Regions from separate parts of the Homo sapiens genome. Here all the other regions are linked to region 1. The links are contacts of gene promoters, found by promoter capture Hi-C in human tissues and cell types (Jung and others, 2019). All regions are on one chromosome and are shown on one strand. The core of a region is centred on a gene start or on the middle of the fragment in contact, and the rest is flanking DNA. Distances in the headings are between cores, read along the strand shown. Region 1 holds the start of CTIF (cap binding complex dependent translation initiation factor). Region 2 overlaps DYM (dymeclin). Region 3 overlaps DYM (dymeclin). Region 4 overlaps DYM (dymeclin).

Evidence for each region. The method cuts DNA at HindIII sites, captures the fragments that hold promoters and counts their contacts. A contact is called where the count stands out against the background at its distance.
Region 2: a contact is called between a fragment that was not itself captured here and the fragment with the promoter of CTIF in region 1, in 2 of the 25 tissues and cell types used here (IMR-90 fibroblasts and heart left ventricle).
Region 3: a fragment that was not itself captured here is called in contact with the fragment with the promoter of CTIF in region 1 in 2 of the 25 tissues and cell types used here (dorsolateral prefrontal cortex and heart right ventricle).
Region 4: a contact is called between a fragment that was not itself captured here and the fragment with the promoter of CTIF in region 1, in 3 of the 25 tissues and cell types used here (dorsolateral prefrontal cortex, heart right ventricle and hippocampus).

What each region holds. Positions count from the first base shown.
Region 1 is chr18:48,537,781-48,541,676 of GRCh38, reverse strand. CTIF (cap binding complex dependent translation initiation factor) reads right to left here and starts at 2,646. Exons shown (of 12, transcript NM_014772.3): 1 at 2,365-2,646. RefSeq lists silencers at 281-760, 1,081-1,170, 1,601-1,960, 2,461-2,540. The HindIII fragment of the contact is 11,515 bases long and covers 1-3,896 here.
Region 2 is chr18:49,427,462-49,431,357 of GRCh38, reverse strand. DYM (dymeclin) reads left to right here. Exons shown (of 18, transcript NM_001353214.3): 2 at 911-1,103. The coding sequence starts at 964. Among named protein-coding and RNA genes, the nearest start is that of DYM, 31 kb to the left of the region's middle. The HindIII fragment of the contact is 7,598 bases long and covers 1-3,896 here.
Region 3 is chr18:49,408,107-49,412,002 of GRCh38, reverse strand. All of the region lies in intron 2 of DYM (dymeclin), which reads left to right. Among named protein-coding and RNA genes, the nearest start is that of DYM, 51 kb to the left of the region's middle. The HindIII fragment of the contact is 3,355 bases long and covers 582-3,896 here.
Region 4 is chr18:49,176,941-49,180,836 of GRCh38, reverse strand. The region is part of intron 14 of DYM (dymeclin); the gene reads left to right. Among named protein-coding and RNA genes, the nearest start is that of MIR4744, 130 kb to the right of the region's middle. The HindIII fragment of the contact is 6,578 bases long and covers 1-3,896 here.

The sequences.
Region 1 (3,896 bases), core at 1,397-3,896:
TCTGTGTGTAAATCGAATCCTGTGTCAAACACTCAGGAGTTTCCCCAGACAACCTGAGCGTGTCCTGGCCATCCTCTAGCGTCTGTTCGGTGCATTCTGTTCACGTATAATTGGGTTTTCTTGAAAGCCAGGCCATCTCCTCGCGCAGCCCGAGCCTGCTAGGAGCCTGGATTCCTGAGGTTTTCAGCCCAGATCGGGCCCTGGGCAGGAGGAACTGGGAACGGACAGCCGGCGGCCCCTCCCTGCGCTCTGGGCGGCTCCTTCCTCTCGGCCCTGGCTCCAGCAGCGGCGGCGCTCTCTCGCGCTGTGTCACTTTCGCCCTACGGAGGCTCTAGCCGCGGCCGAGCCGGCGGCTCCAGCGGCTTCCTCCTTGGTCGCGCGGGCCCCTGGACTGGGGGATAATCCTCGGGCCGCAGAGACACAGCGCCGGGCGGGCGGCGGCCTGGGCCGGGCTGGGGCGCGCTGGGCTTGGGCTCCCACTGTCCCCAGACTGAAGAGCCGGGGCTGCGGTTGGCAGTCGCTGACTCTCTCCCCGGTCTGCGAAGGCAGCGGCGGCGAGCGCGGGCACGCACACCCATAGAACGCCTCGGTGCGGGGTCACCCCAGCGTGGACTGGGGGCGGCGCAGCCAAACCAACCCCCCGCGCCGCCGGGTGGACCCCCAGTCTGCCGGGTCACGGGGCGTCGCGGACGCGGAGGGAGGGGCTGTGTGACTCCGGCCGCACAGCGGACCTGGGACTCCTGCACCGAAGACCAGCACACGCGACCCTACGGTCTTCCCCGGCCCACAGCCGCACGGTCCCCTCTCCAAGTAACTCGGGCGCGCGCGCGCGGGGACACACGACCCCGACTTAGACAAGGAGGGGGCTGGCGGGACAGGTCGCGCGGAGGATCGGGGCCCACGCTTGTCCCCACTACGCCGCGGTCTGCGGTCCCCGCCCCCCACACACACCGGAGCCGTGTGTACACACAAACAGCCGGGCGGGGGAGGCGACGCCTCACTCCTCGGGGTGGAGACGCACGCGGCGCCGCCAGTCAGCCCTCCCCTCTACACGCCGCACACCCCGCGGTGCTCACACCCCCCAGCCCCAACCCTGAAAACTCCGCGGAACCAAACAGAGCCAACGCCGCCCAGATAACGGGCTCGGACCACCCCCCTCCCGATTGTCTTTTACCATCAATAGAGAAACACTCGGCTCAGGCGCGCGGTGTCCCGGACGCCCCCTCCGGCCACATCCAGGCACCGGCACGCGGCCCTCCGAGGCCCCAGACCTTCGCCGCAGCCCAAGCCATCGCCCCCCCGCCCGCCCTCCCCCATGACCGGCGCCCGGGACAGTTACCTGCTCGTCGTCCTGATGAACCCGAGCCGGAGCCCACCCCACGGCCTCTCGGGTCACTCGCCACCCAGAGGTGGCTTTTCAGAGCCTGTCAAGTGAACCCCTCTCCGCCGGGCGTATCTATTCCCCAGGCCCGATTGCACCGCAGCGACAGGAATAATAAAAAAAGCCAACAGAACCACAACCGTTGGGAATAACCAAAGGGGAGACCGCAACGGGTCCACCGATTTGGTTTCTTCCTCTGCTCCCATCCCCCGCTCCCCCCGCGGCCCGCGGGCTCACCGGGGACGCAGGGAGGGGGCTGCGCCCTGTCTAGACGACAGCCATCCACAGACATCCCCGAGCCCGCGGGGACGGGCGCGCACACTCACACACGCCCGCTGCCACAGACACAATCAGTCACCGGGGAAGGGAGGGGCGGCGTGGCGACACACTCTCGGGGTCCCTCCCGCAGCCCCGAGTGCCGCAGCCCCCGGCCCCCAAACGCCACCCCGAGACGGGCTCCCTACCTCGGCGGAGCGCGGTCTGAACAGCTGCAAGTTTGGCTGATACTAAACCAACTGCTCGATGCAGCAAATGCGGGCTTCAAAACAAAAGGGAGAGGAATCGCGCTCGCTCTTTTCCTCCTCCCAGGTCGGAACCCGGCACATGACAGCGGCTACACCGCGCAGCTCCAAAGCGAGCCGGGCTCCAGCCGTGCGTCCCCCAAGAGCCCCCCTTGGCGCCGGAGCTCCAGGGCCACGACACCCCGCGGGGCGGGGAACCCGGCAGGGAATGGGACAAACCCAGGGAGGGGGCGACACTGTGGAGTGCAGTTCCCCACCGAGGGGGAGGAGGGGATGGTAGATGGGTGCGGACACCCCGCTGGCCCAGGAGCAGGGATGGGGGGAAGGGGGCTGATTGTTTGGGGCGGTTTTCCCGGATTTATCTATAAGCACGCCCACGTCACGCAGCCCTCCTCCCGGGTCCCCGAATCGATCAGCAAGCTGAGATGACTATAAGAGGAGGACGGGCGAGGAGATGCTCACCTCGGGGTTCCTCTGGCCGCCGCGCCAAGCCCGAGTCGGGGGTGGGGGAAGGGGGCAGGGAAGGGGAAGGGAGGGACGAGGCTCCGGAGAGCCGACTCCTGCCTCGAGTTCGGAGCGTCCCAGCTGCGGAGGGGATCGGGCGCCCCAGCGCACAGACCCAGCAGAGAGGGGAGGGAGGGAGGGAAGGGAAACAGGGAGGGAGGGGCGGGTAGGGGGGAGGGAGTAGAGGAAGGAAAAAAAATGATCCCTGATCTGACACAGGGAAAGAGAATGTAGGAGAGTGACGTTCAGGCCCCGCCCTCCCCTCCGGCCACGTGCAAAGACTTGAAAGGAAAGAGGGCGGCTGGAGGCCTGCTGGGTAATGTAGTTCGCCTTTCTTTTCCAGGATGGCGGGCCCTGGAGAGCAGGGTGGCCCCAGGACGCTCGGGATGTCGCCTTAGCTGCCAAGACAGCCCAGTCTAGCGACGCCAAAACCCGCCGCCCAGCGACCCCACGGCGCTGGCGCAGCCCTGGGTGGGGGCCTCTGCGGTGGGAGAACTGGGGGCTTAGGCGCAGTCCAGGCTTACAGGGAAACGTTGGTTTTAGAGTCCGAAAGGCTTTAAGGATGAGAACGTCCGTGCCGAAAGTGCAAAGTCTGTGCTAATGGCAGATGAAAAGGAGCTTTGTGTATGCACTGGGGGGCCCAAGTGGCGTGATTAATGCTGCACTAAATGCCACCGTCGGTTATTGAGATGCATATGTTATAATTAACATTTGAGCATCTCTGTGTCGGGGGCTGGCTGTTGTAATTAGATACGCACTTTGCAACCAATTAATTTTCCTTCGGCCAAGCTAAGGGCTGGGACGGGGTGGTTGGGAGAATTCAACGTAGTGGATAATTCAGTAATGACTTAACCAGATCACCAATGTTTTGGTTAAAACTGAGCTTGGCACAGAGAGGCCTTCAGGAGAAATACTGAATAAAATACTGTATGCCCCAACAGGGAAGGGGGCTAGAAATTCATTAGAGGAACTGTGTGATGCAGTATAAACTGCTGTAGAAACCCATTTATTCATTAGTTTATATTCACATTTAGTGAGCACTTTCCACAGACCAGGTGTGTCTAGGAATGCCAAAACAGGTAAGACTCACAGTCTCTGCGCTCAAGGAGCTCAGTCCAGTATTAGGGACTACAGTCAATGAAAGTATTATACAAGGGATAAGTCAGCGCTTAACACAAAGTGCTGTGAAATTCCCCCCACCACACAACCTGGAGCAGCCAACTGGATGGAGGGTGGGTGGGGTCTGGGAGAGGGTCAGGAAGACTTCCTGGAGGAAGTGATACTTGAGCAAAGAATTTCTAAGTTTTTTTTTCTTTTTTTTTTTTTTTGGAGACTGAGTCTCTCTTTGTTGCCCTGGCTGGAGTGCAGTGGCGTGATCTTGGCTCACTGCAAGCTCTGCCTCCCTGGTTCATGCCATTCTCCTGCCTCAGCCTCCCAAGTAGCTGGGACTTCAGGCGCCCGCCACCACACCTGGCCAATTTTTTTTTTTT
Region 2 (3,896 bases), core at 613-3,112, 890 kb before region 1:
GGGCATAGACAGATGAATGAGATAATTCCTGTCGTAAAAATGTGCATGGTTTAGGGGAAGAGGCATATCAACTAAAACTGCATATGTGCCCTACAGCAGAATGACAGAAACATTAAATGTGATTCCTTTGTAATTGGGATCTCTTTCACTTGAAGTTGGTAATTCAGGTTTGTCCCTATGACCCCCATAAGTAGAAGTAGCACATGGTAATTACTTGAGCTATGTTCCCTTCCTTGTACATTCAAGCCATCCAGATTTCTGTATTTCTTTGTCACCATTGTTTTGGTTGTAAAACAGCTTCATTTTCAGACTAATTATAAGTTACCATTATTATGATTTTGCTTTGAGACATTTTCTTGGGTAGAGCTATGCCCATCCTAAGATACATGGTACAAGTACAATATAGATTCGGATTTTTGTGTTTGTATTGGCTAAGACAGGTGTTAGCTCCATATTTCTTTTTTTTTTTTTTTTGAGATGGAGTCTTGCTCTGTCGCCAGGCTGGAGTGCAGTGGCGCGATCTTGGCCCACTGCAACTTCTGCCTCCTGGGTTCATGTGATTCTCTTGCCTCAGCCTCTTGAGTAGCTGGGACTACGGGTGCGTGCCACCACGCCCAGCTAAGTTTTGTATTTTTAGTAGAGACGGGGTTTCACCGTGTTGGCCAGGATGGTCTCAATCTCTTGACCTCATGATCTGCCCGCCTCAGCCTCCCAAAGTGTTGGGATTACAGGCGTGAGTCACCATGCCTGGCCTAGCCCCATATTTCTTGTAACTTTGTATCTGATGTCTAATATATTTATAAATACAGAAATGTGTGATTTTCTTTAGTAAGTTTATAGTTTTTTTATAGGTAGACAAAGCATGATGACTTTTGAACAAGTTTAAAGTTTTTATTTTTATTTTTTATAGGTTGTCTTTTGGAAATGCAGGTTTAAGGACAAATTATCTGCTTAAGCTAGAAGATGGGATCGAATAGCAGCAGAATCGGCGATCTTCCTAAAAATGAGTACTTGAAAAAGTTATCAGGCACGGAATCTATCTCTGAGAATGACCCGTTCTGGAATCAGCTTCTCTCATTTTCTTTCCCTGCACCAACTAGCAGGTAAGAGATTGCCTGGAGATTGAAAATTTGAATAGAGGGCCATATCAACTTGTGTGGTATGCTGATTAAAAAAAAATTTAGAAATGTTCTGTCTATCTATCTAGTCTATCTGTCATACATAGATCAGTAGAAAATCCAAAAGATTTGAAAGTAGAAAATAAGCTTTTCTTTTTACCCAACTCAGTAGCCACCTCCCTTCTCTAGAGGTTATCACTGGTAGCAGTTTATTTTGAATCGTTCTAGAGATAATATAGGTTACTTAAGCATATATCCCATATAGTTTCACAAAATTGTTTAAATACAAATGGTAGCATACTACACGTACTGTTCTGTCCCTTGCCTTTTTTTCCACAGTTAAGTAAAATATATCTTGTATATGTAGCACATTTGCAACTTCCTTATTCTTTTTAATGGCTGTGGAGTATCTGTAGAATATATTTAATTGGTTTTTCTGTTGATGAACATTTAGATTGTTTCCAGTCTTTGTTGTAACAGTTACTGCCGCATACATCATTTTTCATACACACAATATATCTTTAGTATAAATTCCTTGAAGTAGAATTGCTGGGTCAAAGTGTATGTGCATTTGCAATTTGGTAGCTATGCCAAATTGTGCACCATGGAAGTTGTAGCAATTTGCATACCTACCAGCAATGCATGAGAGGTGTGTTTCCCCATATCTTTGTCAGTTTGATGCATTTTAGACCTTTGACCTCTGCCAGTTTCAGAGGTGAAAAATAATATCTCATATTTAATTCTATTACAAAAACTGTCAGACAATAATAATGAAGAATGAATAGAATATTGAATTCCCATACACTCAATAACTAGATTTAAAAATTTTTTATTTACTTTTTAAGAGCTTTATTATGATAGGCAGAATAGTAGCCCCCCAAAGATGTCCATGTCCTTGTCTGCAGAATCTGAATATGTTACATTACATGGCAAAGGGGAATTAAAGTAGCAAAAGGCATTAAGGTTACTAATCAGCTGACCTTAAAACAGGGAGATTATCTTGGATTATCTGGGCAGGCCCAAAGTAATCACAAGGCTTCTTGAAAGTGGAAGAGGGAGGTAGAAGAGAAAGTCAGATGTGATGTGAGGAGGACTCAGCCTGCCCTTGCTGGCTTTGAAGATGGTAGGGAGGTCATGAGCAAGAAATATGAGCAGCTTCTAGAAGCTGGCAGAGGCAAGGATGCAGATTTCCCTCTAGAGCCTTTGGAAAGGGATGCAGCCTTATTGACATCCTGATCTTAGCTCATTGAGTGTCAGACTTCTGACCTACAGAACTGTAAGATAATAAATTTATGTTGTTCACACCACTAAATTTTGATAACTTTTGTAGTAGCAATAGAAAAATAATACACTTTTTGAGATATGTTTCATATATCATGTAATTCACCCATTTAAAGTGTATTATTCAGTGTTTTTATTCACAGAATTGTGTAACAATCACCAATTTTAGAACATTATCATCCCAGAAAGGAACCATCCCATGCCCTATCCCATGCCCATTAGCAGACACTCCCCCAAACTCTAGATTGCACTAGCAACCACTTATTTATTTATTTATTTTTTGAGAGGGAGTCTCAGTCTGCTAGAGTTCAGTGGCGCGATCTCTGCTCACTGCAAACTCTGCCTCCTGGATTCAAGCAATTCTTCGGCCTCAGCCTCCCGAGTAACTGGGCTTAACGGTTGCATGCCTTCATGCATGGCTAATTTTTGTATTTTTTGTGGAGATGAGATGTCACCATGTTGGCCAGGCTGGTCTCGAACCCCTGACCTCAAGTGATTCACCTTCCTCAGCCTCCCAAAGTGCTGGGATTACAGGCGTGAGACACTGCGTCCAGCCACTAATTTAATAACTACTACTAACTTTGCCTCTTCTAGACGTTTCATGTAAATGAAATTGTAACAATAGGTGGTCTTTTGTGACTGGCTTCTTTCTTTTTTTTTCTTCTACCTTTTTAGAGATGGGGTCTTGCTCTGTTACCCAGGCTGGTCTTGAACTCCTGGGCTCAAGAAATCCTCAGCACCCCAAAGTGCTGGGATTACAAGTGTGAGCCACTGCGCCCCGCCGTGACTGGCTTCTTTCACTGAATGTAATATTCATACATGTTGTAGCATGCACCAATACTTGCATTCCTTTTTTTCTTTTTTTTTTGAGACAAGGTCTCACTCTGTTGCCCAGGCTGGATTGCAGTGGTGCGATCGTAGCTCACTATAGCCTTGAACTCCTGGGCTCAAGTGATCCTTCCACTTCACCTTCCTGAGTAGCTGGGACCACAGGCATGCACCGCCATGCCTGGCTGCTTTTTAAAAAATCTTTTGTAGACATAAGGTCTTGCCATGTTGCCCAGGCTGGTCTTGAACGAACACCTGGCCTCAAGTGATCCTCCTGCCTCTGCCTCTGAAACTGTTGGGATTTATAAGCATGAGCCACTGGACCCAGCCTCCATTCCTTTTTATTGCTGAGTGATACTCCATTGTATGGATATACTGCATTTTGTTTGTCCATTCAGAAATTAATAGACATTTGGATATTGTTGAGTGATACTCCATTGTATGGATATAGTACATTTTGTTCATTCAGAAATTAATAGACACTGGGTTGTTTCTATATTTTGTTCATTATTGTTTTTTAAGTATCGTAAAGTCTTTTTTTTTACATAACCATAATACCATTATCACACCTCACAAAATTAACAATAATTTCTGCTACCCAGTTCATATTTAAATTTTTCCATATTTAAATTTTAATTAAATTTAAATTAAAGTTGTTTTAATAGTTTA
Region 3 (3,896 bases), core at 1,010-3,509, 870 kb before region 1:
TAGGTCCTCTTAAAACATTAACCTTCCCACAGTTTAACCACTGAATTGGCTGATTCTTGTTAGTTTTGTGAATGATTTCTGTAATTCTCTTTGCTAAGGTAAGGGGGAAAATGTCTTCAGAAGTGCTTCTGTCCTTTCCTGAATCGTTACTTGTTGATTTTTTCAGGTTATATCTTTGACTAACATTATATATTTATCAGAATTTGTATGTTGTTGGCTGAAATTGACATCATTAATATAAAATGTCAGTTTTGAAAGAATTTTATGGCGGAACTTTCAGCTGAAGGGACTAAGGATTTTCAGTGTTTATGTTATGAAACTTACAGTTTGATTGTTCAGCAAACCTGTGTTCAGAGGTCTGTTATAACTTCTCCCCCAACAATTTTTTTGCCTATCTGCTTTTCTTAAAAATATTTGAGCTATTAATTTCTCACTTTTCATTATTGAGATTCATATATGAGAACGGTGTGCCTAAAAGTAAAATAAAACCAGTCTAAATTACAGAAAACTGTGAAGTAGGGAATACTTAATTTAAAATTTTAGCTTCCCGACCACACTATAGTTTATGATTTCATAGCAGTTACAAGAAAGTCGTCTATCATCTTACCATTTTCCTTATTAGATTTAAAATTTTGTTTTCTTCCAATTCTTTATAATTCACATAATTTTTGCATGATTGGAATTATAATGTAGATATACTTTTTATAATAATTTATGTGTGACACAACTTCTTTTAGGAATATATAGAAATTCCAACTAGTTGCTGGAGTGTTTCTAGGTTGATATTATGTGGGTTTGCCTTAAGAGTATCTCATTTAATATTATTCATATTGAAAGAGTATTAATCTGGAAGTTAAATATGTTTATTCTTATACCGTGACATTGGACAAGTTACTCTGCTTCTCTATTTCTGTCACTTGTAAAGTGAGGATACTCCCATTTCCTCGGTCAACTTCTCAGGGTTTTTAAAAGAAATCAAATGAAATAATAAAGGTGAAAGAACTTTGAATAGTGTATATAGGCCTGTACAAAATGCAAGTTATTTCAGCAAATTTATTTGCATATGGACAATAATATGCTAACATCTTTAAACACATTTCTTTTGTAGAAGGTTAAATAATACTTTTTCTAAATCCCCTCTCCCTTGTCAAAATGATTTCTTTAAAGTATAACACAAAAGTCAGTTTCAACTCAATTTGTTTAATTTTAATTTTAATTTTAATTTTTTTGAGACAGGGTTTTGCTGTATTGGCCAGGCTGGAGGGCAGCTCATTGCAGCCTCCACCTCCAGGGCTCAAGGAGCAGCTGGGACTACAGGCACTCTACCATGCCCAGCTAATTTTTTTTTTTTTTTTGGTAGAGAAAAGGTCTCACTATGTTGTCCAGGCTTCAACTCAATTTTAGACAAACAGCCCCCAATCCTGAATTAGTAAATTTCAGATCAGTGAAGTCTGCTAAATGTATATAATAAGACTTTTTTTTTTTTTGAGGTTGTGGTGTTATTATACAACCAATTGGTAAGCTTTTCTTCTAAGAGTATATATTATTCAACTTCTTATTTTTTTTTAACCTTAATCCCTGAGGACCAACACCATGGCCTGGCAGTGTCCATTGGTACCTCTTATAATACTTAAAAATCCAGTGACTGGGTACTGTGGCTTATGCCTGTAATCCCAGTACTTTGGGGGTCAAGGCAGGAGGATTGTTTGAGGCCAGGAGTTCTAGACTAGCCTGGGCAACATAATGAGACTCCATTGCTACAAAAAAAAATTTGCTGGGCATGGTGGCACACACCTGTAGTCTTGGCTACTCGGGAGGCTGAGGTGGGAGGATTGCTTGAGCCCAGGAGTTCTAAGCGGCAGTGAGCTGGGATCATGACACTGTAATCCAGCCTTGGGAATGCATCGAGACCCTGTCTCTAAAACACACACACACAAAATCCAAAGTGTTCAGATGAAGAAGAAAGAGACAGATGAGTTAGTAGAAAAGCAGATTGAGATGACAAAGGAAAAAAGTGTTGGATGATAGAAACCACTAAAGAGGCACAAATCGTTTCTTTAGGTACTACGTATAGGCTCCACGACCTAAGTCACAGAACATCAGCTGAGTTAGCTTAAGTGTGCTGCTTCTGTTGACCCCAGTTGTGAGTATTTCACTTGCAAACTGTAGCCTGCCTGACCTGCTACACCAATTGACCAACATATTGTAAATACCTCTTGCATATTTTCATATGTGACAATTATCAGGACTAGGTATTTAGTTTATTAGATGGTCCATGTTATATATTTATTTTTATTGTGGAAACTTGAATTCTTGAACTACAGGCTTCATATGAAAGAGGCTTTTTTTCCCTACCAACAAATATTTTTTCCTTATTAATTTGCCAGGATGGGAAAACTAATTGACATCCAACAGTGGTACTCTGTTGATGAATGAAGGGATACATGCTTTAACACCAAGCTCTGGTCTTTTTATTCCATCATTCATGAGCTGTGGTGGGGTCTCCCCTGAGTTGTGGTGGAGAGCAGATCTACCATCAAGGCCATGGTTGTTTCTCTTCCATCACCTCCTGAATTGTGGCTCATGACATTTGGAAGCATTTTCTGCTTAAGCAGCAATATAGTCAATCATGTGTCTTTATAATGAACAAATATAATCCAGAATTTTTTATTTAATATTTGCTAAGTTTTTTTCTTTTTTTTCTTTTTTTTTTTTTTTTGAGACAGAGTCTCACTCTGTCACCCAGACTAGAGTGCAGTGGTGCAATCTCGGCTCACTGCAACCTCCACCTCCCAGGTTCAAGTGATTCTCCTGCCTCAGCCTCCTGAGTAGCTGGGACTACAAGTGTGAGCCACCATGCTCGGCTAATTTTTGTATTTTTAGTAGAGACGGGGTTTCGCTATGTTGGCAGGCTGGTCCTGAACTCCTGACCTCAGGTGATCCACCTGCCTCGGCCTCCCAGGGTGCTGGGATTGCAAGTGTGAACCACTGTGCCCAGCCCACATTTACTGAGTTTTTACTTTTTCTGTCACAACTGAATATTTCTGTATTTTGTTGACTAGACCATTCTTGAAGTTTAGGCCAGAGCCGTTTGTTATGCCAGAGGATTCTCACATGAGTTTAAGTCCATAGAGGTTATAAACTCTGTACAATATTTATGTGCCCCGTCCCTCTTGTTATTTAATACAACAATTGATTGCCTGGGACAGCTAAAGAATTTAGGTCATGTTGAATAGGGTTCCTTCTAAATTTACATGGCACGGTAATAATTTGCTACTTAGACATCATACCCTTTATGGGTTCCTCTGTAGGCCATTTTAGAGGGAAAACAATCCATATTTGTAATAAAGCTTTATGCTTGCTTACTATCATCACATACTTATTTGAGTTTAAAGATAACTGGATTTGGTGTCAAAAGATCTTGATTTGCAACTTTGCAAATCTAGCAATGTGTGGAAGATTATAAGCCACAATTATGCACTACTGGTGGGTAATCTTTCTGGAATATAATTTGCGACATTCATCAGAACAGAAGTGTTCATTGACCTAGCAATTGCACTTCCAGATTTATGTTAAGGACATAATTGGACAAGTTCAGAAATATATGTGGAGAGACATGTGTAAAGACATTCATAGCAATGTTTATGGTAGAAAATTGCTAACAACTTAAATGTCCACCAGTAAGATCGGCTACATAAATAAAAATGGTGCATCTGCACACTGGAACAACATATAGCCGTTAAAAACAATCCTATGTTTTTAGATATGGAAAAGGACCTACAGCATATTAAGTAGTTAAAGCCAGTTATAAAACCATGTGTATAACATAATATTGTTCATGCAAAATTGTATATATATTTTAAAATGTATATGATATATTCATTTAAATTTTTAAT
Region 4 (3,896 bases), core at 531-3,030, 640 kb before region 1:
TTAACCATCACAGCAACTCTTAACTGCCACCATCATTATCACCAAGTATAAGGAAACTGAGTCTCAGAAAAATTAAGTGTCAGAAATCCCATGAGCTATTAAATGGAGGAGTGGGTGTTTAAATACAAATGTGTCTGAATTAGCCTATATTCCTTTCTGCATAACATCAAAAATGAGGTTATTTTATCTTTCAGTTGAAAAATCATTGGTATCCATAAATATTATATGATGCTAGCTGTAGTGCCCCAGGTATCAAGTTTATCATGTTAAATTGTGCAAGGTTAAAATTTACAATCATTTATCAATTTTCTTTAAGTTCCTTAATGTGGAGTTTACCATAGGCTACTTTCTCATTTCTAGAATATTGACATTTGTTGCCTGTACTGTCCATATAGGTTACTGATAAATAATTGAGAAAGGTGTTCACTTTAACATTGTTTTCCTATTTAAATTCTTTATTTAATATGATTCCCATTTATGAAAATAACAACTAATCACTACCAGAGAACGAGGATGGGCACTGACATCTATAGTTTTCTGGTTTCAAAAGGAACACAGAAATTAAACTTCATTTTGAATAAAAGCTGTCCATGATTTAGATAATAATTTATATCTCTTATCAAGAAAAAAGTCTTCCTTACAAAGATAGACTTGTATATTCTAGCTTAATAAATATTTACTTTTTGACTGAACAGATTAGATTCTTTAATCTGGGACTGTTTGTTTCTATCTAACTAGCATTGTTATCAGACTAGAGTTAGGTTTTTCCATACAACAGATCACTTGACAAATAATTAAATACATCTATTATACAAAAGTAAACTGGAATTAAATACTAACATTTATAGTCTAGGTCATGTAATTTCCTCTACCAAAAGTAAGGAAAATATTAACCCTCTCCACTTTAGTATAAACTTTAAAGAAGTTCAACAGATTCATGCTTTGAATAAAGTATCTTTTGCTTTCTTTTTTTGCCTTAAGTGGAAATGATGGTGCTGGTAGTAAGAGATTATTTTACTGTTGCTATCTCTGCTGATTAAGAATGAACAAAATATCAAAGCATTTACATACAGAGGAAGCAGTAGATACTTCGTGTTAAACAGACCTTGGGCAATTTACTTTCCCTCAGCTCCCTTCTCTGTAAAATAGGGATAGTAATATCTACCTTATGTTGACAATGATTTCTCTAAAGACCCAATCCTGTATTTGTTGTGTAATAGATACTCTATAGATGGTAACTATAAGCCTATTCATCGTTGTTGTCATCATCATCATCATCATCACAACAAAATAACTTTATGGTTTTGACAGACCTGAAGATATATTGTGTGGTAACTATATATTCCAAGTCAAAAGTTGTGACATGGTTTGTAAGCAAATGGTAGAATCACATTAGGTGACATTTTAAGTACTCAGTATATCAAGAAACTTTACAGTAGGTGTCTTAAATTGGACACTGTTCAAACAAATTAGAAATGGAGACACTCTTTAAGCCTAATAGATCTTTACTGAATATTGGTCAAATCTCCTTATCAGTTGTAATTACAGTACAGTGAAAAGTCTGTGTAACCCAAAGCTACTGAGCTTCAGATTTTAAATAACTCATAGCAAAATAAAGTTCAGTAATAGTCTCATACATGAAGGCAGTGAGATCATTATGGAATGGAAAGAGCACTGGATTGGGAGTCAAAAGACCAGAGTTGTTCTGGCTCTCAGAAAGCTTTGTGACTGTGGTCTAGTTGTCACCTCTCTTGTTTTTCATCAACACTCAAAGAAGGGAGCTGGATTACATTGTGAAGATCCCAAATATAATGTATCAATGCCCTTCAGTGTGCTGTAATGGGAATTAACTGTAGCTTTTGAGCCAGCAGAGGGAGCACGAAGCATGAATTTATGTCTGGGTTTTAGGAAAATGGGGGCGTGGTGGGGGGGTTACATGGTTAAACATTAATTACAGTTCTTAAAATAGATTATTTCCTATCAGGTTATACCCAACTTGATTTGATCTATAATATTATCTGGAGATGGTGGCATTCTTAAAACTACTGATAGAATTCTACCTCTGTAATTATCGGTAGTTATAATAAAGGACTATATTCCAAAAGTACATTTAATCCATGGTTATTTCTGAGGATTACTATCGTTTATTTTCTCTATTGTTAGTGTATTTTTATTAGAAAGAATTATAATTTTATCATTTTGGAAATATTCTGTTGATATTGAAATAACTGGGCTATTTGAAACCATAAGAATCTTTAAGTGATACATCATTTATCTAGCATTCTTGGGAATTGTGCAGTTCCACATATTTTCCAAATAACAAAAGTATGTTTCACTAAAGCGCCACCTTAAAAATGTTAGAAAGTATTTGGGATAGAGATCTTGCTATTGCAGACTTTTAGGAGTTTGAAGTAAAGACCTTACACACATTTGAATCTTTTTCTCATTGCTGCAGGGTTGTTGATTTGAGCATGTACTGATGTACTAAACCATAGTGGAATTCTGAGTTTGCTCCTTCTTTGATGTTGAGGCCCATTTTTCTCTTTTTGGTCACACTACTCTTAGATTTTTCCCATTTCCACATATTCCCATTCTGGTTTTCCTTTCTTCTTTGTTGCTTTTATTATTTAGAAGCTTTCACTGAGGAAGCCAGTAACTGAGCTTTCTGAGAACTGTGTTAAATTAAGATTCTAATTTAAGGCCTAAGGAGTTAAATCCATGGCTTTCCTATAGGCATTGATAACAACTTCATTCATGGAAATTGTTCTCTCTTTGTGGTTTCGGTTTATGTATTAAGAGGTTGGAAAGGGAGCTACTTCTTTATTCAGGATGAGTCACAGTAGAGATGGGTTTCTTATGAAGTTACTGTAAATATATGATTGGTTTTGTGGTTTTTCTAAAAAGTAGTTTTAGAACTTTAACTCAAAGAATATCTTATCCACCAGTCAGTAGATAGTTTATTTAAAAGGAAAATGAGGGATCATTAACCCACTGAAACCATTGGTATATACAGGAGGCATTGTGGAAGTGTTAAAAGAAGAAAAGAGGAATGGACATCTGTGCCCTTGAACTTGTATTCACATAAGAAATGAGACAAACCTACAAACAAAAGATAAAGGAAGACATGGGAAAAATGTGTAGGACAAGTATAAATTAATAATTAGGTACACAAAGATCAAAAGGAAGTTGAAATAAATGGATAAAGTTTTTACAGACATAAGATTTTTTTATAGTGATGAAGCTAATAGGTGTTGAAAAAAGGCATTTACCAGTAAAGACCTATAATTCCAGTTAAGGCTTCCTGTTCCTATGGCCATCCCAAAGACTAATTATATTCACTAAATTAAGATTAAGGGCTAAGCAAAAAAGAAATTTCAAAGTTCCAGTTGAGATTCTCAAATTAAGGGTCCAACACCTGGGAAATATTTTGGCTATCAATTGTGTTATAACGTAGTTATAGGTACTCTGCAGCATTTCCCCAAAGTTAGCAGTATCATGTTTCCTGTGACTATCTTTGTAAAATCTGACATATAGTAAACATGCTTTATTTGGTAGGTTTCCCCTGAGAGGAAATTTCTTTACACTTAGGAAGTGCCTTATGACCTGTGATAATAATAACTTCTACCCTGCCATCCTGGCTCCTCTTGCACTCACTGTGAGGTCATTCCACTTTCCAAATGAATTTTCTCTTTCAATGTTATTTCGATCCCAATTATTCCCATAAATTAGTGACACTGTGCCATAGGATTTTTAAAAAACTGGACAGATTTGCTATTTCCTTGGTGTGCAATTTTCTCAAGAGACTAAGAAAGGGTCACCGAAAAAGACAACCAAACTTCTTTCAAGTCAGAAAATCTCTTTCTTTACAGAACATAATTTTCTAATAGAGAAAATAC